Regions from separate parts of the Homo sapiens genome. Here regions 2, 3, 4, 5 and 6 are each linked to region 1. Evidence: promoter capture Hi-C in 16 types of primary human blood cells and fetal thymus (Javierre and others, 2016). All regions are on one chromosome and are shown on one strand. Each heading gives the region's core, a stretch centred on a gene start or on the middle of the fragment in contact. The rest is flanking DNA. Distances are from core to core; before and after follow the strand shown. Region 1 holds the start of ELOVL2-AS1 (ELOVL2 antisense RNA 1). Region 2 overlaps LINC02522 (long intergenic non-protein coding RNA 2522). Region 3 has its middle 5.9 kb from the start of LINC02522. Region 4 has its middle 17 kb from the start of GCNT2. Region 5 overlaps TMEM170B (transmembrane protein 170B). Region 6 overlaps TMEM170B (transmembrane protein 170B).

What was found. The method cuts DNA at HindIII sites, captures the fragments that hold promoters and counts their contacts. A CHiCAGO score of 5 or more calls a contact.
Region 2: a contact is called between a fragment that was not itself captured here and the fragment with the promoter of ELOVL2-AS1 in region 1, in 7 of 17 cell types (naive B cells, M0 macrophages, erythroblasts and 4 more). The highest score is 9.0, in naive B cells.
Region 3: a contact is called between a fragment that was not itself captured here and the fragment with the promoter of ELOVL2-AS1 in region 1, in 2 of 17 cell types (erythroblasts and naive B cells). The highest score is 8.5, in erythroblasts.
Region 4: a contact is called between a fragment that was not itself captured here and the fragment with the promoter of ELOVL2-AS1 in region 1, in 4 of 17 cell types (naive B cells, erythroblasts, megakaryocytes and 1 more). The highest score is 6.4, in naive B cells.
Region 5: a fragment that was not itself captured here is called in contact with the fragment with the promoter of ELOVL2-AS1 in region 1 in 1 of 17 cell types (fetal thymus); the score reaches 5.4 in fetal thymus.
Region 6: a fragment that was not itself captured here is called in contact with the fragment with the promoter of ELOVL2-AS1 in region 1 in 1 of 17 cell types (endothelial precursors); the score reaches 6.3 in endothelial precursors.

The regions. Positions count from the first base shown.
Region 1 is chr6:11,042,202-11,045,858 of GRCh38, reverse strand. ELOVL2-AS1 (ELOVL2 antisense RNA 1) reads right to left here and starts at 2,101. Exons shown (of 5, transcript NR_038964.1): 1 at 2,034-2,101. It overlaps ELOVL2 (ELOVL fatty acid elongase 2), which reads left to right and starts at 1,554. Exons shown (of 8, transcript NM_017770.4): 1 at 1,554-1,631. The coding sequence starts at 1,629. RefSeq lists enhancers at 23-523, 524-1,024 and a silencer at 1,459-1,658. The HindIII fragment of the contact is 4,245 bases long and covers 1-3,290 here.
Region 2 is chr6:10,469,359-10,473,015 of GRCh38, reverse strand. It overlaps LINC02522 (long intergenic non-protein coding RNA 2522), which reads left to right. Exons shown (of 4, transcript NR_183333.1): 2 at 981-2,143; 3 at 2,286-2,787. Among named protein-coding and RNA genes, the nearest start is that of LINC02522, 11 kb to the left of the region's middle. The HindIII fragment of the contact is 2,650 bases long and covers 255-2,904 here.
Region 3 is chr6:10,486,062-10,489,718 of GRCh38, reverse strand. No RefSeq gene overlaps it. Among named protein-coding and RNA genes, the nearest start is that of LINC02522, 5.9 kb to the right of the region's middle. The HindIII fragment of the contact is 1,360 bases long and covers 1,141-2,500 here.
Region 4 is chr6:10,502,465-10,506,121 of GRCh38, reverse strand. No RefSeq gene overlaps it. Among named protein-coding and RNA genes, the nearest start is that of GCNT2, 17 kb to the left of the region's middle. The HindIII fragment of the contact is 2,740 bases long and covers 483-3,222 here.
Region 5 is chr6:11,578,766-11,582,422 of GRCh38, reverse strand. TMEM170B (transmembrane protein 170B) reads right to left here. Exons shown (of 3, transcript NM_001100829.3): 3 at 1-3,657. Among named protein-coding and RNA genes, the nearest start is that of TMEM170B, 43 kb to the right of the region's middle. The HindIII fragment of the contact is 4,660 bases long and covers 1-3,657 here.
Region 6 is chr6:11,562,407-11,566,063 of GRCh38, reverse strand. TMEM170B (transmembrane protein 170B) reads right to left here. Exons shown (of 3, transcript NM_001100829.3): 2 at 228-398. Among named protein-coding and RNA genes, the nearest start is that of TMEM170B, 26 kb to the right of the region's middle. The HindIII fragment of the contact is 5,292 bases long and covers 1-3,657 here.

The DNA of each region.
Region 1 (3,657 bases), core at 852-3,351:
AGGAAACTGGAGCATAGACAGTTTAGGTAACCAACCCAATACCACACACCCAGTATGTGGCAGAGCTGACTCCTGAGATTTTTATCAGACTAGGTTAACCTGTTTATGGTCATAAAATCATCCGCCTTTTATAAACAAATATATGCCTAATATTTACCACTTCAGCTACAGAAATTCTATATTAGGAAGAAAAACTCTCTATTAGGAAACTATATATTAGGTGATTGTATGACAGTTAAGATTTAGCCCCGGTACCTACAGTTACTCACTCTGCTACTGCACAAAACTCTGCAAGGGCTCCCACACCGCCCCAGGTGTGGGATGCTAAGTGTATGGTGCAGGTACCTCCGTGCACAGCCACACGGGCTGCTCTCAACCCCAATAAACATGTTTACCACATGAGCCTCACATGTGGTAAACATTTTTTTTTTTTTTTTTTTTTTTTGAGACAGGGTCTCATTCTGTCGCCCAGGCTGGAGTGCAGTGGCGTGATCTCGGCTCACTGCAGCCTCCACCTCCAGGGCTCAAGCCATCCTTCACCTCAGCCTCCCGAGTGGCTGGGATCACAGGCGCAGGCCACCACACCCAGCTAATTTTTGTATTTTTTATTTAAGAGGCGGGGTTTCGCCATGTTGCCCAGGCTGGTCCCGAACTCCTGACCTCAAGTGATTCGCCTGCCTCAGCCTCCCAAAGTGCTGGGATTACAGGAGGGAACCACCACGCCCGCCAACTTCCCATGCTTGAGGGAGAAATGGAAGAAAGTTCATGTAATACTCAGGCAAGTCCAATTTTTTCGACGTCTTTCACTTGGGCCACACACACAACTAAAGTAACTAGAAGCGCAGGCTCTAGGAGGCCACCGTTCTGTTCACAGTGAAGAGGGTGCGCTCACCGTTGGTCGTGTCCGCTGGAAGCCCCGCGTCAGGCCGGGAGCGGGACAGAGACTCTTGCTCAGGGCCGTTATCCGAACTGATCCGCTTCCCACCGCACCCCCAGAGAAACCCACCCAACCCCCTAAACCTAAGAAACCCAGACTGCGCAAACCTGCAGGAACAGAGCCATTTCCCCCTAATGTGTGCTTCAAACCCACCGAAGCCCAACTGTAAGCAAGACCAGCGTGCCCGCCCTGCACGATACTGCTTCTCCCCGCAGCAGCGGCTGCCGATCTGGGCAGCGGGTGGGTATTCCTGGGGCTCCGTGGACGTTGAGCCGCCGCGCGAAACCGGCGCCGGCTGGACCTGCAAATCGCCGCCCGGCCGGCAGGGGACGCCGCGGACGCGAGGGCGAGGTCGGTCGCCCAGGAGGGGGCGCGCGAGGCCGCAGGGGCGGGGGGCGCCGCCTCACTTGCCCTGCGCCCCTCCCCCGCGCGCCCTCCTGGCGCGGCGGCCGGCGAGGCCCCTGTGGGAGAGGGGGCGGGGACGAAACGGCCCCGAGGCTCGGAGCGCCGCGCGGCGGCGGCGCGAGCCCGAGGGGGCGGGGAGGCGCGGGCGGGTGTGCGCGCGCCGGGCGTGGGTGTGGGTGGGGGTAACCGGCGCGGGCGCCGAGATAGCGCCGGGCAGAGGGACCCGGCTACCCTGGACAGCGCATCGCCGCCCGCCCGGGTCGCCGCGCCACAGCCGCTGCGGATCATGGTGAGTGGGGCCGCGCGCCGCCACCGACACCGCCGCGCTTTCTTTCTCTCCTGGACCCACGCACCGGGCGGGAAAGGGCCGAGCGGGCGCCGGCGCGGGCGCTGCGGGTTCGCCGCTGGAACCCGCTACCCTCGGAGGGGCCGGGTCCGCGCGGGCCTGGGGAGCGGGAGCTGAGCGTTTGGGCCGGGGGCGCGCGGGTCGGCCCGAGGCCCGCGGGTCTCGGGAACTTTGTCTCGGTCCCCTCTCCCCGGTCCCGCCCCGGCACCTCGAGGCGCCCGCTCGCGCCCAGTCCCCTGTTGCATGCACGGGGCCGGGCGCCCGGGATGCCCGAGGAAGCCGCCCCTCCTTCGCGGCGGCCATTCCCGCGCGCAGCCCACCCTCCGACCCTCCGGACCCCCGAACCTGCTCTCGCCACCGCCCGCCGACGCCTGGAGCGGAGAACGGCGTTTCCCGCGCGCGGCACACACCCTGCCTCGGGAGTTCTGGGGTTCGGGCCCTAACGGTCAAGCTCTTGCCCCTCTCCTCCCTTCACCGCGCCTGCACCCCGGGGGTGTGTCTGTGCACTCGTGGGTGCCTCCTGGGTTTGCAGATTGGCTTGGGAAGCGGCTGGGTTTCTATCAGTGTCTGGGCTCGGAGGGGCTTCTGGTGTGTTCTTTCCGACAACTCCTCTCTCTGCCCGATTTCCCAGGCCAGTCCTCCACTCTGGATTAGTAACGCTTCTTTCTCCTCGGCAGTAAGCTGTGTGTGTGTGTGTGTGTGTTCACCCGTGTCCGATGAACTGCCTGACAGTAAGCTGTGTGTGTGTGTGTGTGTGTGTGTGTGTTCACCCGTGTCCGATGAACTGCCTGACAGTTTTAGTAGCAGAGCCTGGTTCTTTGGTTACAAAGGGAGAACATCTGTTGTGCCATCCTCAAAGGACTGGTCTTTAGGCAAAATGTGAAATCCGCGTTTGTCTTCAGTGGTCCATATTCAGTGTTTGCCTCACCCCCTTCCCGTAGGGTTTTCTCTCCACTTCAGGACTTGTTAAAATAAGCGCACTTCCTTTCTCTTCCCCACTCCATCTGATTTTGCTCTGGCTACCCTTTTAGGCACGTACCATCTGCCTGATTATGTGTGACCACTTAATCTTAAAATTCCAACCTTTCCTACCCCGCCCACCACAGTGTATATTCCCCTTGCCTGCTTCATTTGTCTTCTCTTGAGCATGTATTAGTTAGCGTACTGCATATTTTGTTTCTTTAGCTTGTTTCTTGAACGTCTCCTCTACCAGAATATAGGTTTCAGGAAGACACAGATTTTTGTCATTTCGTTCATTGCTTGCTAGATTTCTAGTACCTACAGCAGTGCCTGGCGCACAGTAGGTACTTGATAACTCTTTTGAATTAACCCAATAAAGCAAGCTGCTTTATGTTAATGCACAGGTGGGGAGTAACTGCAAAGATTATGCAGTTGACATTTGTAATGATGAGAGTCTCAAGTGAAGTTTGGGAGGAGGGAGATACTCCCGACAGGAGGGACCCGATTTTGGCAGCCTTCAATGACGAGTCTAGGCGGCTATCTCTTATGCCTTGTCTGTCGCTTCATGCTCTTTGCACCTTGGCATCAGAGTGGACAAAGCATTTTTAGGACCAACTGGCTCTCCTTTTGGGCTCTGAAGCTTTGTCCTAAAGTATAGGTAGGAATTGTAGTGAGTAAGGGAATAAGTCCAAGGAAATCTCTTTAGCTGAATAGGAAAGTCATGGGAATGTTAACCTAAAAGAGCTAAAATCAAGGGCAAGCTCTTGAAAGCTTTATCCTGCCCAAGTGTGATGCTTCCTGTTTAGATAAGTATTTCTCAGAAACTGTGGGTCTTCAGAGGAATTTTTTTTTAATACCCAAATCCAAATTGTATTACTTTTTTCTTCTTTCTTTTTTTGTGGCAGGGTCTCACTCTGTCACCCAGGCTGGCATGCAGTGATGCAATCTTGGCTCACTGCAACCTCCACCTCCTGGGCTCAAGTGATTCTCGTGCCTCAGCCTCCTGAGT
Region 2 (3,657 bases), core at 330-2,829, 570 kb after region 1:
TGATTATTGTTACCATATATGACTGTCTAAAAAATTTTATGTATGTATAAAAATTTTTATGTATACATAAAATTTATACATACATAAAATTTTTTTTGAGACAGTCTTGCTCTGTTGCCCAGGCTGGAGTGCAGTGGCACAATCTAGGCTCAGCTCACTGCAACCTGCGCTTCCTGGCAAGCGATTCTCGTCTTGTAATATATTTTGAAATCAGGAAGTGTGATGCCTCCAGCTTTGTCCTTCTTTCTCAAGCTTATTTTGGCTATCCAGGGTCCCTTGAGAGTCCACATAAATTTTAGGATAAATTTTTAATTGGATTTTTTAATAGGGATTACATTGTTTGCTTAATGTAATCATAATGCATATGATTTTCTTATGCCCCCAACAAATATGAAATCATAGTCATAATCATTTGCTAAATGATTACATTAAGATTGTTTTGGGTAGTGTTGACATTTTAACAAAACTAAGTCTTCCAATCATGAGCACAGATGTCATTCCATTTATTTGTGTCTTCTTTAAGTGCTTTCAGCAATGTTTTAAAGTTTTAGCGTACAGTCTTTTGTCTTCTTGGTTAAGTTTATTTCCAAGTATTTTATTCTTTTTGATACTATTGTAAATGAAATTGCTTTTGTAATTCCCTGCAGCCTCTTTCATGCTCTGAGCAGAACTGCATTGCATACAATCAATCACCTACACTCACAGGCAAGAATGTACTACTATTGTAATAATGTAAATTTTTCTAAAATCACAAAATGGAAAATGCATCTTATTTGCTTTTAACGTTTTAGCAGATGATGTGGTCAAGTAAATAAATAAAAGGAGAGAAAGAGAAGTTCTGTGTGTGTGTGTGTGTGTGTGTGTGTGTGTGTGTGTGTGTGTCTGTCTGTCTAAGATCCTTTTGTTGTTTGCTTTGGCCTAGTTTCTTATGCTTTGAGGAAAAGCTCATTCTCATTCATGTGACTTGCTTTGGCTAATAGGACACCAGAGCATGATGCAAGTGTGGCTTAATCGGTGCTTGCACATTGGGCTTGTTCTTTCCAAACCTGTTGCCCCGATTCTGCAAGGCTATCCTGCTGTAGAAGGAGGCCCTGGAGGACAAGACACCATGTGGGGAAAACAGCCATGGGGAGCAGAACCGAGGTATCCCAGCTTAGCTCCCAACTGACAGCAGCCACATGAGTGAGCAGAAAAACAACTTCCAAGGGTGATTTAGCTACTGCTGCTGTGGAATGTCAAAACTTTCAGCAAGGGAGCCCGATGCAGATCTGTTGATATGACACCATTCCACAAGAAGACCAACTGATGGCTTTGTGGCAAGTTGACTACACTGGGCTGTTTCTATTCTGGGAAGACAGAGATTTGTTCTAAGAGGAATAGGCATGTGTTGCAGGCATAGGTTGACCTTTCCTGCCATGGAGCCTCCTCTGGTACCACTATTTGAAGGTTGAAGGAATGTTGATTCACCAGGATTGAGTCAGACCAGCCAAGCCTATGACCATGATGTCAACTGACTGTATCACCTGTCACATCATCCAGAAGCTACAGACTTATAAGGCATTGGAATAACTTGTAGATGGCCCCGTTAAAGTACCAGCTTAGAGGCAACACTCCATGAGAATGAGACATCATCTCCAGGATGGCACATACACATTGAATCACACAGCATTGATAAGGAGATGGCTCCCCAGTAGGAAGAATATATTGGTCATGAACCAAGGGATGAAGCAGAAGTGTCTTGCTTCCTGTCCCTGCAGCCTCTCTTTCTGCAGTGCTAGAAATCCTGGTCAAAAGGGGGCATAATTTTATCAGGGGACACAGCAAAAGTCTCCACTACATTGCAGCTATGCCTGCTGCCTGGGGATTTTGGGCTTCTTATAATTGGGACCAGCAATAAAAGAGAAGAGTCACAGTCTTGGCAGGGCTAATTGACCCTGATCAGCAGGAGAAGAAAGGCTGTGGTTCCACTATGAGGGTAGGGAAGACGTGTGGCACCACTGATCCACTTTTGCAACCCATGGTACTCCCGTGGCCAGTTGTGATGACAGACAAGTGCAGGAACACTTTTGGGAAGGGCATGGTGGCCAGAGTTCAGACCCCATGGGAATGAGGACCAGGGTCACACCACTGGATAAGCCAGGAGGTAAGCTGCAGAGGTGAGGGGGAATCTAGACTGGGGATTAGGGGAGGAAAATGAAAAGTATCAGTCATTGCCCTGAGACCAGCTGCAGCAGCAGGTGTTGTAGCTTGTGCTTCTAAGCCATCTACTTTTACATTTCCTCCAGGAAGAGAGGCCCACTGGAAGGCTGGAGGAGCTGCTCCCCAGATGTAGATGAAGTAGATTTGAGCAGCACAGTGGTGGACCTAGTAGAGGCGGACATCAAGATCCTCTTCAAGGAAAGATTATCAATATAGTTTTCCCTGACCCAGGTGCCATGTGTTTTCTGTCATATTCACGTATGCTAATACATAATTGTGCAAGTGGGGTAATATCTGGGACACTTCATGGTTCATATCAAAACACAGAGTGAAGAGAACATCCTCTGGGCCATCTCAGAGTGTGAGTTTGGGGCGGGGGTGGCTCCTGGTTAACATTTCTGTCCACTGCAGCATTCCTTTTCCCTTTTGCTTTTAGATTCTTCCCTTGACATCACACCAGGAAAGTCTGACAACTTAACTTTATTGGATATAGGCAACCGTTGAATCCAAGTTTTGCCCACTGAATCCATCAAATTGTTACAGCCAATTCTAGATGCCTGAGTGGACACATGAAATCCAGATTCCCCAGTAAGCGCATCCCCATTAATAAACTGACCAAATGCAATGTTAATCTGTTCTATAACCTTTAGAATCCATCCCAACATATATTTTTTAGGTTCCTGCCAAGATATGTTAGCAAAAGCTTGCAATTTTTTGAAAAATGAATTATCTCTTCCTGGGACATGTGTTGTACTTTTCTCTCTGAAATAGGCTGAGCTCTGACTCCATTAAAAGTCTGAAAGCAATGAAGAGTGAAGGAGCGGATATTGGGGAGAATAGGCATCCTCTTGCAAGATAACTGCCTCAAAGTCATTATAAGGTTTTCAAGCAAGAGAAAGCTAATTTCCTTACACATATGAAGAAGCGTTGCTTCTCCTGGCAAGAAATACACAGTGAATCAGGGATTCAAAATTCTTAGCTTTATCTAAGTTTACCCAGATGTGTCTATCCTTCCCAATCAGTGCTCTTGGCAGGAGACTTGGCAAGTCTGCGAAGTCAACTTATGTTATAATTCTGCAACCCACACAAGTTCTTATTTTCAATGAGGGTAACCTTGCAGCCACACAAAATAGCAAAATTTTTTAAGGAGTACCATAGACACACTCTGGTTCTCTGTGTTCAGTGTTTTAAGCCTATCTTTTTGTTCCCCTGTAAGCTCTTCAATGTAGTCCAAAATACACCATCTGTGGTAGGCAGAATTCTAAGAAGGTTCCAAAGATTCTCACCCATGGTGTAGAGAACTTGTATAATTTTCTCCCCTAAAGTGTAGGTGGAGCCCGTGAATAGGATGGGATATTAATACCATGATTGTGTTATATTTTGAGACAAAAAAAATTTTGTAGATGTAATTAAAGGTACTAATCAGTTGACTATGAGTTTATCAAAAGGGAGATCATC
Region 3 (3,657 bases), core at 571-3,070, 560 kb after region 1:
GTTTGCAAGGACTATTTCAAAAGCTCAGAGCTCCTATCTCAAGAGCGTAAGGCTGGACTGTGAGAGCTCAGGTCCAGAGAAGCCAGGAAGCACTCCTTCTTCCCCAGTCAGAATGGCAGTGGCAGGTAGCGTGTGCTATTCCTGCCCACTTTGTGGAGCTGCTCTGTTCTGATGCCTGTGGCAGGGTGGTCTGGTGGCTAAGAGGCCATGAGAGCAAATTTGGCTTCAAATTCCTGTTCTTTGGTCTTTACTATCATCTTAGGCAAGGTGTATATCTCATCTCAGTCTAGTTTCATCATTCCTAAGAGATGGACTGTTACGGACTGAACTGTGTCCTCCCAAATTTCATCTGTTGAAGTCCCAACTCCCAGTAACTCAGACTGTTACTGTACTTGGAGATAGGGTCTGTAAAGAGGTAATTAAGGTAAAATGAGGTTATAAGGGCATGGCCCTAATCCAATAGGACTGGTGTTTTTCTAAGAAGAGGAAGAGACACCAGGAGCATGTCACAGAGGAAAGGTCATGTGGGGACACAGGGAGAAGATGGCCGTCTGCAGGCTAGGAAGAGAGCCTTCACCAGGAACTAACCCTGCTGGTAACTTGATCTTGGACTTCCAGCTCCAGACTATGAGAAAATAAATTTCTGTTGTTTAAGCCATGCAGTCTGTGGTATTTTGTTATGGCAGCCCAAGCTAGCTAATACAGGGACCAAAACAGTGCCTAGTTTCCTGGATTAACGTGAGAGCAAATGAGACTATGTACCTAGCACATAAAAAGCAATGGAGATGCTTATCTTCCTCTTCTCCATCATCATCATCATCAGCAGCAGCATCAAAATGTGCTACCTCCCAGGAGACATTCAGTGCTGATTTCTCCCAGGGAAGGGATGCTCCTTACAAGTCATCTTACATAACTTCCACCATTTTCATCAATAGATAGTTGTTACTCATTAAACATATATATACAGATTATTTATGGATCATATGTATATATACATGGATTATATATATGTGTATTTCATATATATATGTGTATAATCCTCTTTACAAATTCTCTAATACATAATTCTCTTTACAAATTCATTTGGCTGAGCAAAGAATAAAACTCACAACCTCATTAACACATCAAATACAAAAAGCTTCACACATTGGCAGTCCTTTAAAGCACGGTAGAAGCAACATGAGACCACAGACTGGAAGTAGGATTCAGGAAACAGTCACACAGCTGGCACTGAGGGGTCAGGTACCTAAGCCTGGGATGAGTAGAGTGAATGGAGATCTTGGGGGTTTCCTGAGATCAAGGACTTGGATTAACAAAGAGGTCACCAAGTCTGAAGTCAGGTAGAAGAAAAATCCCGCATCTTAAAAGGCACGCGAAACGGGTGAGAAGGGAAAAAGCCTGGAGATAAGGGGGCTGTACCAGTGAGAGGTGACAGCGTGCTGACAGCCCTCAGCCCTGGCTCGCTCTGAGCGCCTCCTGGGCCTGGGCGCCCACTCTGGCAGCGCTTGAGAAGCACTTCAGCCCACCACTGCACCGTGGGAGCCCCTTACTGGGCTAGCCAAGGCCGGAGCCGGCTCCCTCAACTTGCGGGGAGGTGTGGAGAGACAAGCCGGGCGGGAACCGGGGCTGCGTGCAGCGCTTGCGGGCCAGCGCGAGTTCCGGGCGGGTTGTGGGCTCAGCGGGCTCCGCACTCGGAGCGGCCGCCGGCTCGCAAGTCCGGGGCAGTGAGGGGCTTAGCACCTAGACCAGGAGCTGCTGTGCTCGTATTTCTCGCCGGGCCTTAGCTGCCTCCCCGCGGGGCAGGGCTCCGGACTTGCAGCCCGCCGAGCCTGAGCCTCCCCAACAGCCCAAGCCTCCCCGATGAGCACCACTCCGTGCTCCAGAGCGCCCAGATCCCATACGACTGCCCAAGGGCTGAGGAGTGCAGAAGTGCAGGCGCACAGCGCGGGACCAGCAGGCAGCTCCGCTTGCGGCCCTAGTGCAGGATCCACTGGGTGAAGCCAGCTTGGGTCCTGAGTCTGGTGTGGGACTATGGAGTACCTTTATGTCTAGCTAAGGGATTGTAAATACACCAATCAGCACTGTCTCTAGCTCAAGGTTTGTAAACACACCAATCAGCACCCTGTGTCTAGCTCAGGGTTTGTGAATGCACCAATCGGCACTCTGTATCTAGTTAATCTGTTGGGGACTTGGAGAATCTTTATGTCTAGCTAAGGGATTGTGAATACACCAATCGGCACTCTGTGACTAGCTCACGATTTGTAAATACATCAGTCAACACTCTGTATCTAGGTAATCTAGCGGGGACATGGAGAATTTTTGTGTCTAGCTCAGGGATTGTAAACGCACCAATCAGCACCCTGTCAAAACAGACCAATCAGCTCTCTGTAAAATGGACCAATCAGCAGGATGTGAGTGGGGCCAGATGAGAGAATAAAAGCAGGCTGCCTTGAGCTTCCAGTAGTAATAAGCTGTAACCTACTTTTGCTGTGTGGAAGCTTTTTCTCCTCCTCCTCCCTCGTTTTGTTTCTGCTTGGTCTTTAGGTCTGTGCTGCTTTTGTGAATTGTAGCACTCATTATGAAGGTCTGTGGCTTCACTTCTGAAGCCAGTGAGCCCACAAATTCACTGAGACGTAACTCCAGACGTGCCAGTTTTACGAGCTATAACATTCACTGTGAAAGTTAGTAGCCTCACTTCTGAGCAAGGAAGACTACATAATCCACCAAAAGGAAAAAAACTGAACACATTGGAACATTAGAAGGAGCAAGCTCCAGACATGCCGCTTATAAGAAATTTAATACTCACTGTTAAGGGCCCATGGTTTCATTTTTGAAGTCGGTGAAACCGGGCACTGACCAATTCTGGACACACCAGCAGCCCTGGAAAAGCATAAGTTTGTGAAGACTATTTGGAAAGTCTGAGTCCCTGTCCCTGGAGTGTGTCTTTTCTGTGTGTGTGTGTGGTTGTGTTGGTTTTTTTTTTTTTTGGAGTTTTTGGTCTTGGTTCCCAAGTTGGACTGCGTATGATCTCAACTCACTGCAACCTCTGCTTGCTGGGTTCAAGTGATTCTCCTGCCTCAGCCTCTGCTAGCAGCTGGGATTACAGGTAGGAGGCACCATGCCTAACTTTTGTATTTTTAGTAGAGATAGGGTTTCACCATGTTGGTGAGGCTGGTCTCGAACTCCTGACCTCAATCCGCCTGCCTCAGCCTTCTAAAGTGCTGGGGTTACAGGCATGAGCCACCGCAGCTGGCCTACAAAAAGTTTTAAACTATCCAGGCATGGTGGCATGCCTGTGGTGCAGCTATTCAGGAGACTGAGGTGGGAGGATCACTTGATCCCAGGTGAGCTCTGATTACACCGCTGCATTCCAGTCTGGGCAACAGGGCAACTCAGACAGTTGATGTCCAAGATCAGTAGCTGGGAGGGGCAAAATTCTCTCTTAGCCTCTTTTTTACCTGTTCAGGTCTTCAGTTGATTGGATGAGATCCATCCACATTAGGAAGATAATCTGCTTTACTCAGTTTACCAATTCGAAGGTGAATCTCACCCAGAAACACCCCCACAAACACACCCAGAATAATGTTTGACCAAATATCTGGGCACTCCATGGCCCGCCGAGTCGTTGACATGTAAAATTACCCTTTACGCCCAATA
Region 4 (3,657 bases), core at 603-3,102, 540 kb after region 1:
CACACCTGGCTAACTTTTGTATTTTTAGTAGAGATGGGGTTTCACCATGTTGGCCAGGCTGGTCTCAAGCTCCTGACCTCAGGTGATCTGCCTGCCTCAGCCTCTCAAAGTGCTGGGATTACAGGCATGAGCCACGGTGCCCAGCCGTATTTTAACAATATTTTTATCCCAGAAATAGCTCAGGGATAGAATAAGTGTTCTAGAATTGTTCCCATGCTGCTCAGTGAATGTCAAACCACCTTTGTGACTGAAGCCCATGTAGAAAAGACTTGTGAAATAGTATTGTGGAAGCACTCTCATATTCCTGCCACCAGTAATGATTTTCCTTTGTTCTTTGAGGTTCATATTTGCTTTAGTTCTAAGACCCACAGGGGGCCTGTTTATTCCCAGCTAGTTTGCGTAAGAAAGGACGGTTTGTGAAATGCTTTATGAACAGGTCTGGCCGGCCAATCAAACACTCAGCATGGCGTTGTCAGGAAGCTTGCCTCTCACCAGAAGGGGCACATCTGGGAGTTCTCACTGTACTAGACCATCGCTAGGTGGAGATCAGGCAGCTCCAATGGAATACTTGAAAGTGGTTAAGAACGGACCCATTGTGATCCTTTTTTTCGGGGGGGAGAGTCTCACCATCTTTTTCAGGCTGGTTTTGAACACCTGGGCTCAAGCAATCCTTTCACTTTGGCCTCCCAAAGTGCGGGGATTACAGGTGTGGGCCACCATGCCTGGCCCCTAATATTTATTCATGTTCTACTTAAGAAATGCCTTTCCTATACCAAGGACTGAGGTAGATAGGTGCTGAGTATTTGGAATACAGGGGTGAGAAACAGATACTTTTTTTTTTTTTTTGAAACAGGGTCTCACTCTGTCGCTAAGGCTGGAGTGCAGTGGCATGATCTCAGCTCACTGCAATCTCTGCCTCCCGGGTTCAAGCCATTCTCCTGCCTCAGCCTCCCTAGTAGCTGGGACTACAGGTGCCTGCCACTGCGCCCAGCTAACTTTTGTATTTTTAGTAGAGATGGGGTTTCACCATGTTGGCCAGGGTGGTCTTGAACTCCTGACCTCAGGTGATCTGACCACCTAGGCCTCCCAACGTGTTGGGATTACAGGTGTGAGCCACCACGCCCAGCCCAGACACATTTCTTCCTACACAGATGCACACACATACATTCACATATACACAGAATAAAAAGACTGGGATATATACACAAGAATGTTAACAGTGGTTCTCACTGAGTTGTAGCATTATGGATTATTTTTATTACTTTTACTCTATTCCAGAGCTTGCACTGCTTTTATAAGCAGGGAAAAGATTTTGTTCAGTCTCAATGTGTGGAGCTAATTTCTGAAATCCAGAAATGTCAAAGCGGAAACTGCATCTGCTCTAGGAGTATCACAGTGGACCAAATACCACATCCTGAGACAGTACCATGTTTCAAACTATGGCAGGAGATCTGAAATTCCTGAAAGAAATACCCAGAGACTTCTGGGCAGTTTATGTTCATGAAAAGAAAAAAATATATCTGGTATTTTTATGAAGTTCTTTTCTGTGTTCTGAAAAACTTAATTCACTTTAATGAAATTAAGAGATTAATCAAGAATAAATTAAAACACTATCCTTTTTTCTACATATTCTTTCCAGATCCAGGAGAGGGTTCGGTGGGGGGAAGCAGTCATTTCTGGCCTTCCCTTGCCTTCTGACCTCCTGGCCACTGAAGTGCACAGGCCAACGCCAAATTTAATAACCTTCAGAGACAGATGTTTGTAAAGTGGAGCCCGGGCTTGATTAATTCAAACAGTGTCTAAAATCAGTGTTTGTTTTATTCCCTTATATTTGAAGTTTAAATGTCTACTGGTTATTGATCAACTTTTATTATGGATTTACTCATACAAAAAGGCTATTTGAAAAGGGCTAATCCCTCCCCCACCTTGAAAGTTGACAATTTAAACTAGCTCAGAAGAAGATCTGCGAAGCGGTAAAGAAACTTGCTTGGCTTTATTTCTTCCAGTGTTGCCCAAACTCATTTTTTTAGCTAAGTTTCTTTTTTATTTTGAGACGGGGTCTTGCTTTGTCAGCCAAGCTGGAGTGCAGTGGCATGAATATGGCTCAGTGAAGCCTCAACCTTCCGGGCTCAAGCAATCCTCCTGCCTCAGCCTCCCAAAGTTGAAGTGCTGGGATGACAGGTGTGAGCCACCACGAGTGGCCCTATGTGAGCTTGTTTGACAATACAGTCCTCTTTGGTAGGGTAATGTCTAATTGAATTATATAATGTCTGAAAATATATGTATATCTTTTTTTTTTCTTTTCAGACAGGGTCTTGCTTTGCTACCCAGGCTGGAATACAGTCGTGTGAACACAGCTCACTGCAGCCTTGACCTCCTGGGCTCAAGAGATACTCCTGCTTCAGCTCCTTAAGTAGCTGGGACTACAGGCACGTACCACCATGCCTGGCTAATTTTTTGTATTTTTTGTAGAGATGGGGTTTTGCCATGTTGTCCAGGCTAGTCTTGAACTCCTGAGCCCAAGTGATCCACCTGCTTTGGCCTCCCAAAGTGCTGGGATTTACAGGCGTGAGCCACCGTGTCTGGCCTTGCATATTATTTATAATGAGGAAGCTAACTTGATAATTGAGTTAATAGAATGAAGGCATGTTTAAAAAAATCAGGTGTTCTGACCAGACCCAGAGTTCCCACTTTGACTTGGAGAAAAGTTTAATTTGTAAATTTATACATTCCTATAGCATTTGAATTTGTCATAATAAGCAAATGCCTTTGAAATATTGAGGTTTTAAAAAGAGATTAAAATGCCATTAAAAGACACATATGCCAAAAGAAATGCAAAGAAGTGGATGAGGTTCAGGCCAGGGAGAAAAACAAACAAACCTGGGAACAATAAGTTGCACCAAATTGGGGTTCAGGGACAAATTTTTATAACAATTAGAAAATAAAGATACAATAACAGCAACAAGAAGAATCCAATAATGGTGAATGTGAACCTCAGAAGAGAGCACGGTAGGAGAGCCTGACACAGGAGTGAAAAAGCCGAAGGAAGCTCAGCTCTGCAGGATACTGAATCAGCAAGAGCAGGGCCAAGGATGAAGGTTTACAATTCTCAGTAGCCTTCTTCTTTCATGCCACTGGTGTTTAAGTTCAGAATCAAGGAACATTCTAGCGTATACATTATCGGGAATAAGTCAAGTAAGTTGTTAAACCAAAATGAAAGCTTAATTAGATAGCAATTCAGTAATCAGGACGCATATTTCATCGTTACTATAGCCAACAGTTTGCAAACATAGGACATCACACAGCACGGGACAGTGAACTCCGAAAGAGGGGAAACTAATGATATGAGCCCCGCGATTGCCCCAGCTTACTGAGTACAGAGTTATTCTGCCACAGGGCAGGCAGAGGAGTCCAGGGGGAGCCTGGCCATCTCCTTGAATGGAGCAGACAGATTTGAGAGTTTGAGGAGGTCAAGACTGCTGAGGTTCCTAGGGTGGAGTTACTGTGAAGGAGATAGTCCAGAGAGAGAACTCCAGACACATGCAAGAGGGTCTCCCTCAAGTCTTTAGCTAACGACCGATCAGGAAATATGCAAAGAAATGACCCAATGCCAAGGAAAGAATGACCCGAGGATTAGAGAAAAGAAACAGCAAAGCT
Region 5 (3,657 bases), core at 752-3,251, 540 kb before region 1:
CTAAACTTTGAATTCCCAGTCACTGGTGATGTGTATCTAGCCAACTCACTGGTGCCAATCCTGAATCTTGCTAAATCCATTTTGCACAAGTATCTTAACTTTCAAGGCACTAAGGCTTCATTTAGCTTTTAAAATCTGCCTGTGATTTACCAAAAGATTCATCAGTGGTCTGAGAGTTAACACAATTTGAAAGTGAGACTTTTAATACTTGTCAGGTAAACTATATTTTTGCTATTTAAATAAAGACATTTTAGCTAGTTAACTTTCAAGATAAAGTTGATTCCCTCATCTCAGAATAACTAGAGTCAGGGGCTAATATTTTTGGTAGAATCCTATGAATTTTGGATGGCTAAAACAAAAAATACCGTGAATTTCCTATTTGTTCATCTAAATGCGTGCAGCTCAAGTCTGAATGTGTGTATTGGTGAGAGGGCCAAATCTTTCAAAAAAATTCTTCCATTGTAAATGCATCCAACATCAAAAACATTAAGAAAGTGTCAACAGTTAAACTATCAACTCATCTGCTATTAAAAGCAAGTCATTTTTATGATCATTTACTCAACAAGTGCCACTATGTTGCTTTCTATGGAGAAAACTTTAAAATGTTCCATTCCAAAAATACTTAACAATGATGTGTAAATACTTTAAAAACAAGAGAAGCGTCATCATCAGTAGTACTCTCGAGTTAACGTTCCTTTAAACAAGGCTCTAAAAAAAGTGATTTCTGCTTAATTCAGCAAGACAGAATAAAATTTTTAAAGTGGTGATTTTTAGGAACTACCAATTTATAAGAGAAAAAGTGTTACAGTTATGGGACTCAGACGATTGATTATGCACCGCAATTCCTCTTTCTGTGTATTTGTGTCAAACTGCTTTTCCGTTTCAGTTATCCACCTAAATACATTCCCAAAAAGGGTGGAGTCATGTTACTACCAAGAGTAGATACATGTGGGTGCAGTACATAATCGTAAAAATGTATGTATGAGGTTCATGCTCTCCTGACTTGCCTAAAGTATTTACTTTTCAGTAAGATTAGAGCTGCATAACTGTAGGGGTTAAGAGTATTCTTTCCTAAACCAGCTCCTTGGATTCTATCAACAAATTGTACATATGTTTAAACTATAACATACGACATCTGTATGGAAAGAGGAGGAAGATTTTTAGGAAATTGCTAAATTCGTTCTCAAAATCAGGGAAGAGTTATTATGTAAGTTCAGTATATGTGCAATAAATGTAAAGAATGTGAAAACAACTTCCCTAAACTCAGGGGAAGAGATGATTATAGTTCATAGCTCAGTTCACTCAGAAATGTGTTTCCACTAATTTAAAAGTATTATCTGATATATCTCCACATTTACTGAAAATACTTCAGATATTAAGCATTATTTCCCCCAAATTCATGGATACATTTTTAGATAATTCAGCAACCTCCCTAACAACACTGTACTGCCTACACAGACCAGAGCTCCTTAAGTGAGAAGAGCAAACCTGTCACCACACACACACACAAAATGCAATACAATTTCAAAATGCACGGTGGTCAGTGAAGCCTCACATATAAAGAAACACAGCATGTGTAAACATGCAGTATACATACTCATCCAGTATAGTTTCTAGTCCTAACAAAACACAGGATGTAGGGCGCTTTGTCAAATATGTTTTTGTTTTTGTGTGTTACCTCTCCAAATGCTATAATTTTTAATCAAATAATATCCTTTTTATCCTGAAGAGTCTTCTTCCAAGATGTTATAACAAGGACGGGAAGTTAAGAAAGATTATAAAACCATTTGATTATTGGTCCGTTTTAACAATTCAGAGTTTCACCCGATTATTAAAAGAAATAGTAATTTACCCAGTTACCCAAAAAGTGTTACCAAATTTCTCTGCAATCGAAATCTGCTAGAATTTCTTCAGTAATTTTCCTCGTCCCTCACATCTTAAAAACAAATAATGACTGCAGAGATTCTGATTGAGACTGAGAGAAAAATCTGTAGTGTCAAGAGTGAAGTGGTTTGAGAATATTTCAGAAATTGCTCCAGGCATCGTTACTCCCTGAATTACATAATGAACATAAATTTAAAATAATAGTATTTGAAGTTAAAAAAAAATAGGCTGGGCACGGCAGCTTACACCTGTAATCCCAGCACTTTGGGAGGCCAAGGTGGGTGGATCCCTTGAGGTCGGGAGTTTGAGACCAGCCTGACCAACATAGAGAAATCTGTCTCTACTAAAAATACAAAACTGGCCAGGCATGGTGGTGCACGCCTGTAATCCCAGCTACTCGGGAGGCTGAGGAAGGAGAATCGCTTGAACCTGGGAGGCAGAGGTTGCGGTGAGCTGAGATCATGCCATTGCACTGCAGCCTGGGCAACAAGAGCGAAACTCCGTCTCAAAAAATAAATAAATAAAAGAAACAAAATAACAGCTAGGGCTTAAGCACCCTTGGCCTGTGGAAGAAAGAACTTGGTAGACACTGAATATCGTTCTATTTTTCTACAGAATTGGCACTACACTGTAGAGCCAAGGGCCCAGGGCCGGCAGAAGAAACAGACATATAGAAGACTGAAGGGTTATATATCGCTCTTACTTTTCAAGAAGAATAATTAGCAAATAGCAGAAAGTCAATAAATCAACATGGCTGAATGAATCCAAGGGAAGTAAGTGGGAATAGATAAGGGAGTCAAGGCTGACTACCTCTCTACCCTTTTCCTATTTTAACCAGTGGTCAACAGAACTCCTAATTTAATCCTGCTTGCACTGGCCATTTCCACCACCACCAATTCACAAAAGGTTCTTAAAGATCTGCTGATTTTAAAAAGAAAAAGTGAAAAGGAGATGAAGCAAGATTATAAGAAAACGTTTTTAGTTTCTTTCCTAAAGCATATGTAAGGAAAATATAGAAATGAAACAAAATTGATGAATTTTACAAAACAACATATTCAATTGGTAATGCAATTGCAAAATGTAATTTAAAAAAATTCTAGAGACTATCAGTTGATCATTTACTGTGAAATACATACTGCTTTGCCATTCATAAACAATCTCACGTAATCCTCACAATAACTACATGAGGTATTAGTCACATTTTACGGAGTATGAACTGAGGCTCAGAGAAGTTAAGTGATTTGCTCAAGGTCAAAAAGTTGACAAGTGACAGAGTCTTAATTCAATCTGTGTTGCTGGCTTGGAGTCTCGTATTCTCTTCACTATGTCACAGCCATGATATCTCAGTTATGGAAATTCTATTTAGTGGATGAACCAGGAAAATGAGAATTTGGAGGGATAACAGGCTAACTCTCAACTAAAATCAGGAAGCAAAATGTTGTCCCAAACTTTTTAGGATTTAAAAATCATCTTGCTAGCTCTTGGTGTACTCAAGGTAAAGAATTCCATCTTGGTAATTCTTGTACTTCTTACTAGAGAAAATACTTGGTAGAGCACTTTACATAGTGGATCCACACGAAGTGTTTACAAAATAGAATTATTTGCTGTATGAGTGGCAGCCTAGGTACATCAATGTGGCAGCCACATTTTCTTCATTAGAGGTTCTTTAAAGACCTTTCCCACAACATTCTGTGATTTCAAATTATCCCGTTGCTCATATCACAAATACAAGATATACAGGCCAACTCATTTCTTTATTTCTCTCATTTAAAG
Region 6 (3,657 bases), core at 863-3,362, 520 kb before region 1:
TTCCCTCAAAACCTTGTAAAAGGACTCTTCACACAGCAGAATTACAACGACTTGTCTGTTCAATGAATAAATCAGCTCATCTTTATCTTCTAGATGGAGTGTGTTAAGTGTTGAAAAATAATCTACATAAAAGATCTCACTAATGTTACATGTATAATAAGAACACAGCTACCAAAATGGTAAGTGTATACAAACTTACATCCTCAGACAAAAGAAAATCAACTTACTGGTAATCATCGCTCCAGTTACAGAAGCCAGAAATCCAATGCTGACTGCAATGACAGAGATGACTCTTCCCTGCCTATGCCTCTGCAGCATCACAAACATCAACACTCCTGCAGCACCATGGACAAACAGAGAAGAGAAGAGAGCCCAGAGGAAGATCCAGTACCACATCTCTGAAAGGAAAAGCAAAGTATTAATCATCTGTTGAAACACAACTTAGAAAATTCAATTTAACAAACAGTGAGCACCTATGGTTTGGGAGGTTAAATGACATAATACATAGAAAAATGCTTCACACAGTGCCTGACACAAGTAGCACTGAATACATTATAAGTTTTATCATCATCGCTGATGCCTGATGGGGAAATAATTCCTTCCATGGCTTCAAAAGGTTAACACTATACTCTAATTTCTTCTAAATGCCCCTATTACATAGCTATCATCCATCAATTTTATATTAAACCCCTGATATATTTGTAAACTTCTTAGAATTATAAAATTACTGTTTGAAATAGAATTTTTTATTTTCTACCCTAAATAGCAGTGTTAAGAATGTTTTTAACTACCTTGTAATTCTAATTCAAATCATTCCAGAAATCAGTCAATGATTTTTACCTTTTATCTTTAAGAATTTCAGTCATTTTCTCCTTGTGGCCCTGAACTTGGTATACTAAAAAATCAGTCAGATAAATTATTTGCCTCTAGTCATCTTAGTGTTCCTTATCCAGAACTTTTCAAGCTCCAATATTATCTCCCCACTGTGACCTCAATCGACTGTTCACTGACATCTCAGCTTAAGAGACAGTGGACAAGCACACTCTTCATTCTCTGTCTCACATTCATTCCCTTTCCTTCTGGCCACCCGACTGCCTCCCAGTCACTCCATATAGTTCCCACAGATGTCCTTGCACTGACTCCTTCTCCCTGACCATACTGTAGTGAGGGTGGAAAGAAAGGCAATCGATCCAAGCTGGGCCAATCGTTCCCTTCCCCTGGGACTTCTGGATTGGGACCAACTGAGTGTCCTTGCTCTTTGGGTAGCTGAAGCAGAAAGGCTCAAGATTTGTGAAGCTACTTCATCGTCGCATGATGAAAGCCACAGTACAAGAAGGAAAAAGATCCATCAAAGACAAGAGAGAATCAAGTCCCTTAATGAGTTATTTCTAAGGCCTGACTCATTACCATCCTTAGATTCAATGTCACATCCCAGTTCCCATTTAATAAAATCCCTCTTTTTACTTAAACTATTCAGATAAGGATTCTCTCACTTATACCTGAAAGAGCTGACTCTAAAATATTTAGATGTCACCTTGAGGATCATCCTTGATATGCAAACATTCTATAATACAAAGTATCTCATCTGTGATTTGGGCTAGGTAGTCACTATCAATTGTAAAAGAAAAGTCAATAAAATAGTCATTAAAGAATTAAAATGGATGAATCAAAACCTATGTATCCAAATATCATTAAACATAGATATTTACTGTTGGTAGGAATGTAAAATGATGCAGCTGCTGTGGAAAATAGTATGGAGGCTCCTCAAGAAGTTAAAAACAAAACTACCATATGATCCAACAATTCCACTTTCTGGGTATATACCCAAAAGAACTAAAAGCAGAATCTCAAAGAGATATTGGCACACCCATGTTTATCAGTATTATTCACAATAGCCAAGAGGTGATAGCAACTCAAGAGTCCCTGAATGGATAAATAAAACATGGTACACATACAACGGAAAAATTACTCAGTTTTAAAAGGGAAGGAAGGAAATCTTATCACATGCTACAACAGGAATGAACCTTGTGGACATTATGCTAAGTGAAATAAATCATCACAAATGAATACCATATGATTTTGTTGTTTTTTTTTAAGGCAGAGTCTTGCTCCATCACCCAGGCTGGAGTGCAGTGGCGTGACCACAGCTCACTGCAGCCTCCATCTCCTGGGATCAAGTGATCCTCCTGCCTCAGTCTTCCCAGTAGCTACAACTACACATGTGGGCCACCACGCCTGGCTAGTTTTTAAAAAATATTTTTTGTAGAGACAGGATCTGCCTGTGCTGCCCAGACTGGTCTAGAACCCCTGGCCTCAAGTAATTCTCCTGCCTCAACTTCCCAAAGTGCTGGGATTACAGGCGAGAACCACCACACCTGGCCTCAAGTTGTAACCTTTAAAATCAACCAGTAACCATAACCAGTGAAGTGTTTCCTTGCGTTCTATGAGCTGTTCTAGCAAATGATGAAACCTGAGGAGGGGTCAATGGGAACCCCCGACTTACAGTCAGTCACAAATATGGGAAGCGCAGACTTTCTACTGGTGTCTAAATGGGAGTCGTTTCTGGGACTGTGCCTTTAACCTGCGGGACTGGATGCTAACACCAGGTAAATGTCAGAACTGAACTGAACTGTAGGACACCCAGTTGGTATCCTAGAGAACTGCTTGGTGTGGGAAAAAAACCACACATCACTTGTCACAGAAGTGATCTGTGTGAGGGAGGAGAAAACAGTGAGTGCCTTTTCTTGGCGGGGAGGGGGGCCTGGTGTGGAGTAACCTCAGCTCACTGCAACCTCCACCTCCCAGGTTCAAGCGATTCTCCTGCCTCAGCCTCCCAAGTAGCTGGGATTACAGGTGCCCGTCACCATGCCTGGCTAATTTTTGTATTTTTAGTAGAGATGGGGTTTCTCTGTGTTGGTCAGGCTGTCTCAAACTCCCGACCTCAGGTGATCTGCCCACCTTGGCCTCTCAAAGTGCTAGGATTACAGGCGTGAGCCACTGCCCCCAGTCAACAGCGAGTATGCTTCATCAGTTATGTTTTTACCAATTTTTTTTAAAAAGTAAAAAATTTAAAAGCATGATATAAATTTGAAAAATACTTAGGTCAAGACCATAAATGACTAAGAATTTTAAAACGAAACAAAAACTCCTTAAAAAGGAAGGAGGGTATGGTTATTAAAAAGCAACATGAGTGATCTTTGTGGTAATGGATTTCTTCTTTGACTATAGTGGTGGATATACATGTAAGTGATACAATTGTATAGAACTAAATACACAATAGAGAAGAGTACAAGTGTAGAAGAAATACTAGCAAAATCTGGATAAGGTTGGTGGATTGCATCAATGTTAATATCCTGGTTGATATATTATACTGTGGATTTCTGAGATGTTCCTATTGGGTAAACTGGATAAAGGGTACATAAGCTCTCTATGTATTGGTTCTTACAACTGTGATTCTTATAATCTCAAAATAAAAGTTTAATCTTAAAAAACGAAAGAATAGAAAGATTTTTTTAAAATCAGCTTTACCCTGCCAAATTCTTAAGAACTGGCACGTAGAATGGACTCATGCAATTTGAAATTATTTCAAAGAAGATACATCTGATATATTTTACAGTGTGTGTTAAACTACCATGCATGCTTCTCAATGGCATACAA